2 separate regions of the Homo sapiens genome follow, and region 1 is linked to region 2. Evidence: promoter capture Hi-C in human tissues and cell types (Jung and others, 2019). All regions are on one chromosome and are shown on one strand. The core of a region is centred on a gene start or on the middle of the fragment in contact, and the rest is flanking DNA. Distances in the headings are between cores, read along the strand shown. Region 1 overlaps GALNT11 (polypeptide N-acetylgalactosaminyltransferase 11). Region 2 holds the start of RHEB (Ras homolog, mTORC1 binding).

Evidence for each region. Contacts are between HindIII fragments. The study calls those that stand out against the background at their distance.
Region 1: a fragment that was not itself captured here is called in contact with the fragment with the promoter of RHEB in region 2 in 2 of the 25 tissues and cell types used here (dorsolateral prefrontal cortex and spleen).

What each region holds. Positions count from the first base shown.
Region 1 is chr7:152,035,275-152,038,345 of GRCh38, forward strand. All of the region lies in intron 1 of GALNT11 (polypeptide N-acetylgalactosaminyltransferase 11), which reads left to right. Among named protein-coding and RNA genes, the nearest start is that of GALNT11, 11 kb to the left of the region's middle. The HindIII fragment of the contact is 4,607 bases long and covers 1-3,071 here.
Region 2 is chr7:151,518,230-151,521,247 of GRCh38, forward strand. RHEB (Ras homolog, mTORC1 binding) reads right to left here and starts at 1,666. Exons shown (of 8, transcript NM_005614.4): 1 at 1,231-1,666. The coding sequence starts at 1,282. RefSeq lists silencers at 877-986, 917-1,346, 1,057-1,176, 1,347-1,506, 1,677-2,026 and 1 more. The HindIII fragment of the contact is 18,818 bases long and covers 1-3,018 here.

The DNA of each region.
Region 1 (3,071 bases), core at 130-2,629, 520 kb after region 2:
AGAGTCCTGGAGTTTATACTAGAAATGATTCTTACAGGAGAAACTAGAAAAGCACCAGAGACAGGGAGTGGTTTCCAGAAGCGGGACTAGCCTCAGAGAAGAGAGGCAAGAGAAAGTTTTTCTGACAAGCATTAGGACCCAGGAGGCAAGGGTCAGGATAGGTAGGATAGATGGGCGAGTCTCGCTTGGGCAACATGACTTCGAGAGTTCTGCTCATGGCCACAGGGTCAACCAACTTGTTGTCAGGACCCCGGAGCTGAATGGCTTTCCTCTCTGTCGACCCTCGGCTCAGCCCGGAAGTACAGGAAAAGCGGAAAGCTGGTTCCAGGCAAACCAACACTCCCAACTCCGAAGAGTCAGGGGTTGTTAGAGAGCCCTATCCCGGAAAGCCTGACACCCGTGTCTTTAGTCCAGCGGCTGTGCTAGTCAGTTTTAACTGGCCGCTAGTCACTTTTAACTGGCCGACAGGTGCCTGGTATTTAGCCACCGAATTCTAAGGGAAAACAGGACAGAATAGCAAGTGAAAGGGGTCAGATGGTACTCACTGCTTGGCAATAGCGTCAGCCCCAAGTGAGGATGGGGAAGGGGTTTTACAGTCCTCTATAAGCAGGAATTGTCCCAGTCTGATGTGGCTGCTGCGTAGTGCCCGCTGGCCTCCCTCTTGATCTTCAGGGGGTGTCTTCTGCCCAGCTCTCTTCTTGCTTCTGCTAACTTGCTGATGCATGCTGCTGGCGCAACTGTCCTTGCGCATTTGGACTGGGCTTGAAGAGGGAGGAAGTATTCATTCCCTTAAGCTTTCAGGCTTGGGGGAGAATCTTTCACAACCCAATGATACTCTTTTAAAGTTACTTTAAAATGTGCAATAAAGTTTTGTTGACTGTAGTCATGCTGTTGTGCTATCAAATACTAGATCTTATGCATTCTATTTAACTATATTTTTGTATACATTAACTGTCTCTCCCCTCACTCCCTTCTCAGCCTCTGGTAACCATTATCTAGTCTCTCTCTCCGTGAGTTCAATTGTTTTAATTTTTAGCTTCCACAAATAAGTGACAACAGGCAAAGTTTGTCATTCTGTGTACCTGGCTTATTTTACTTAACATAATGACCTCCAGTTCTATCCCTGTTGTTGCAAATGATGGGATCTCATTCTTTTTTTATGGCTGAATAGTACTCCATTGTGTATATGTACCATGTTTTCTTTATCCATTCATTTGTTGATGGACATTTAGGTTGCTTCCATATCTTGGCTATTGTGAACAGTGCTGCAGGAAACATGAGACTGCAGACCTCTTTGGTATACTGATTTCCTTTCTTTTGGGTATATACTATGAGTGGGATTGCTGAGTCACGTGGTAGCTCTATTTTTAGTTTTTGGGGATCCTCCAAACTGGTCTCCATAGTGCTTGTACTAATTTACATTCCCACCAATGGTGTATGAGGATTCCCTTTTCTCCACATCCTCACCATCATTCATTATTGCCTGTCTTTTGGATATAAGCCATTTTAACTGGGGTGAGATGATATCTCCTTGTAGTTTTGTTTTGCATTTCTCTGATCAGTGATGTTGATCACCTTTTCATACACCTGTTTGCTATTTGTATGTCTTATTTTGAGAAATGTCTATTCAGACCTTTGCTCATTTTTTAATAGGATTATTAGATTTTTTTCCTATAGCATTGTTTGAGTTTCTTATGTATTCTGGTTATTCATCCCTTGCCAGATGGATAGTTTGCAAATACTTTCTCCTGGTCTCTAGGTTTCTCTTCACTTTGTTGTTCCTTTGTTGTACAGAAGCTTTTTAACTTGATGTGATACCATTTGTCCATGTATGCTGTGGTGGGGTATTACTCCAGAAATCTCTGCCTAGTTCAATGTTCTGGAGATTTTCTCCAGTGTTTTCTTTTAGTAGTTTCATAGCTTGAGGTCTTAAGTCTTTAATTCATTTCAATTTGATTTTTGTGTATAGTGAGAGATAGGGATCTAGTTTCATTCTTCTGCATATGTATATCGAGTTTTCGCAGCACCATTTATTGAAGAGACTCTCCTTTTCCCAATGTATGTTCTTGGCACTTCTGTCAAAAATGAGTTCGCTGTAGATGTATGGATTTGTTTCTGGGTTCTCCATTCTGTTTCATTGGTCTGTGTGTCTGTTTTTATGCTGGTGCCATGCTATTTTGGTTACTATAGCTCTTTAGTATAATTTGAAGTTGTAATTTGGGGTTAGATAATGTGAAGTCAAGTAATGTCATTCCTTCAGTTCTGTTGTTTTTGCTCAGATAGCATAGGCTATTCTGGGTCTTTTGTTATTCCATATAAGTTTTAGGATTTTTTTTTTCTATTTCTGTGAAGAATGTCTTTGGTTCATTGGTATTTTGATAGGGATTGCATCGAATCTGTAGGTTGCTTTGGGTGGTGTGGACATTTTAACAGTATTGATTCTTCCAGTTGGTGAATGTGGAACATCTTTCTTTTTGTGCGTGCATGTCTTCAATTTTTTTTTTCCTTCCTTTTGAGAGAGTCTTGCTTTGTCACCCAGGTTGGAGTGCACTGCTGTGATCTTGGCTCACTGCAACCTCCACCTCCTGGGTTCGCATGATTCTCCTGCCTCAGCCTCCTGAGGAGCTGGGATTACAGTTGCCCACCACCACACCCGGCTAATTTTTGTAATTTTAGTAGAGATGGGGGTCTCTCCATGTTGGTCAGGCTGGTCTCGAACTCCTGACCTCAGGTGAGCTGCCTGCCTCAGCCTCCCAAAGTGCTTGGATTACAGGTCTGAGCCACTGTGCCCAGCCCGTCTTCTTCAATTTCTTTTATCAGTATTTTATAGTTTTCATTGCAGAGATCATTCACTGCCGAGACCAGCTGGGTCATGGAGACCCTTACCCAGCGGCGCTAGAGGAATTAAAGACACACACACAGAAATATAGAGTGTGGAATGGGAAATCAGGGGCCTCACAGCCTTCAGAGCTGAGAGCCATGAACAGAGATTTACCCACATATTTATTGACAGCAAGCCAGTCATAAGATTTACTATAAGTATTCCTTATGGGAAATAAAGGGATGGGCAG
Region 2 (3,018 bases), core at 416-2,915:
GAGAGGTGGTAAAAGGATGAGTAAGCATGCAGTGGCTGATCTTGGTCAAAGAGCACAGACCCTGGCACAGGCGGTGGAAAGCGCAGTTGGGGAGTGCATCCAGTGAGCGGCAGGCAGGTACAAGCTTCCCATGACAGATAGTCACCCCGTTCCGCAATCACGGGAGCCTCGGAACCCTCGCTTTCACCTCCCCATCCCCTCAACTGTGGCCCGGTGCACGCCTTCTATAGACAGTTACTTCAAAACAGCCCGAAAAGATGAACTAATTTCTCCAGGCTTCCGGATGTCGGGAGACAATACAGCCTCACCCTGAAGCGTGTCTAAGTTCAATCGCTCTGGTTTCACACAGGCCAGAAAACCGCTCGTTCTGTAACACCCCGTCCGCCCCCCAACCCGACCCTAAGCCACCTTATTCAGCAATAAGGCGACTGCTAGGAACTGTTTCAAATGTATGTCAACCTTTTGGGGGAAGAAAAAGAAAACAAAAAGACTTTGGAATTACTTCAACAGCCTGGTTGCAAGTACCTGACCTTATTCCTTCCCGAACAAAAATAGGGCACCGAGAGATCAGACATTCCTTTTTCTCTGTCTTCCTACCCAGGCCGCCAGCAGCATCTCGAGGGCCTCCAGAGGGACCTCTTTTGGGGGATCGCCTAGGTTTCCTATGCAGAAAACTTGCGTTCAGTGCCCAAACGTCCTCTAAATCCCTAGTTTTCTTTACAAGGGTAAACTTCACCACAGATGGAATGAAGCCGAGGCGCTGCTTCCTTTGTTAAAATCCCACGGACTTTCTTTTCCTTACATCGGGGGCGGGGTGGGGGAGACCGCCAGCCCCGGTCACGCGCGCCCGCGGCGAAGGCGGGGAGGCAGGTGTGACTCCCTCGCGGCAGCCTCTAGCGCGGCTCCCCGGCGCCGCCTCACTTCCCCAGACGAGACCCGGACTCCTCGGCGGCCGACGGCCCCCGCCCCGCGCCTCCCACGCCCTCCGCCCGGCCGCCACCTGCCCGCCCGGCCCGCGGAGGGCGCCCAGCTACCGCGGCTCCTCCACCGGCGCGGACGCCGCCCCGACCGCCACCACCTCCGCTCAGAATGGTGGTTACGAAACGCGCGGCCCCCGCCCGCCCCGCCACATGGCCGCGCCGGCTCCAAACTTCGCAGGCCCGGCCGCGACCCGGCTCCCAGGCGAGGCCCCGGCGGCGCGAGGAGGCCGCGCGGCCACCGGCCACTCACCCACAGACCGGTAGCCCAGGATCGCGATCTTCCGGGACTTGGACTGCGGCATCTTGGCGGCCTCCTCAGCCCCGGCCCAACCACATCAACCGCGGCGGCGGTGGCTCCTGCTGCTGTGATCGGCGGCGGCCGCGCCGGGAGAGAGCGGCATACAGAGCAGGGGCGGCGGCGGGCGCGGCTGCCTCTCGCTCGCTAGCTCGCGCGCTCCCAACCGCCCGGAACCGACCGCGCGGCGGCGCCCCTCCCCCCCACAACACGCCCACGTGACCGGCCGGCGTCAGCACCGCCCCTCTTCGCGCCGTGGCCCGCCGCCTCCGCCCCCCGAAATACGCGGGGGGTGCGTCGGGGCGACGTTTTACTTTAAAGGCAAAAAAAGGGGACGCCGCGATGCCCCCAGAAAAGTCACGACTGAAACTCGCTGCGTCATGACCCTCCCACCTTCTTCCGCCGCTTTTTAATTACGCCATTCTCCCCGAGCGCCGATTGGACAGCTCCTGCACAGCCGCGCGATGACGTGTCGGAAACTCCATCTCCCATTGGGGGAAACAAGGAGGCGGGGAGGGGGGGGCGGGGCTGCCCGCCCGGGAGCTAAAAATACACCTCGCTGCTACCGCGCTGTTGGGCGCCGGCTAGGTTTGAAGGCTTCAAACTTCCAACCGGTTAGGGGCGGGCGGGAGAGGCGGAGAGACAAACGGTGGCTCCCTGGTGATTGGCCAGAACGGAGCGCAGGGCGGGGCAATAGGTGGGAGGTGCGGTGATTGGCGAAACGCTAAGCGGTTGGCGGGTTCGCGCCCGCTGAGCCCGTGAAGGGCGCGAGGCGCGTGGCCTGGGCGGGTGGGCTGGCTCCTCCCTCGGGGTTTTTTGAAAATTCTCCTTGAGCTGCGTTAGCGTTCGTGTCTGGGTTTGAGGATGTAGTGGTGACTAAGCGTCACCGACGGCCGAAGGACTGTGGGAAGCATGGAGTCTGCGTTAATTCAAAGTGTTAGGAATTTCATTAAAAACAGGGCGAGCCTCGTCAGTTCTGGTGTCCGCTTCGCTTCGCGCGGAGCTCGGCGCACCTCCTGGAACAGCGCCGGGGCGGGAAGCCGGTTCTCCGCCAGCACCGGGGCGGCTGGTGCGGCGGGCAGGCCCGAGCCGGGTGCCAGGAACGCCTCGGGCCGCGGTGTGGACGGGCGGAGACCGTGGTGTGGGCACAGCCTTCCCAGGGGTGCAGTGCAGAGGGGCGCGGGAAGGGAAGCCCGGCCGGGAACGCAGGTGCCGTTGAGGGACCAGCCTGCAGGCAGGCCCGGCGTGGTGGCTGCTGGAGGGCTTGGCACTTGCCGAGTTAGCAGAGACTCCGCCGCGCCGGGGAACCCGCCCCTATTCTGCCCAGGCTGTTTGGCAGTGGGGACCTGCAGAGGCCGGGCATGGCCCTTCGCCCTTTGCCAGTGATCGGTGGGGAGGAATGAAGCCAGGGGAAGCTGAGTGGCAGGCCTTGTATTCCAGCGTAGGAAGGTTTAGAGGTGACTGGAGTCGACTTGGAACACCCAACCCAAGAGCGACTCCCTCCAGCTTTCCCACGGAAGCACTCCGATGAGGGGCTGGGGTGTGCATTCTTGTCCTCGGGGATCTACAGATGGAAGCCCCAGGCAGCCAGCCAGAAGTGATCAATGTCTGGAAGTTCTATGTTTCCATGAAATGTTGAGGTTTACGCTATAGTTATTTTAAGTATTTTAAAATAAAGGTCTTAAAATGCACTCTCCTGTAAAATGTGTCGTTTTTATCCTGTGGATTCGGATACCCTCACCA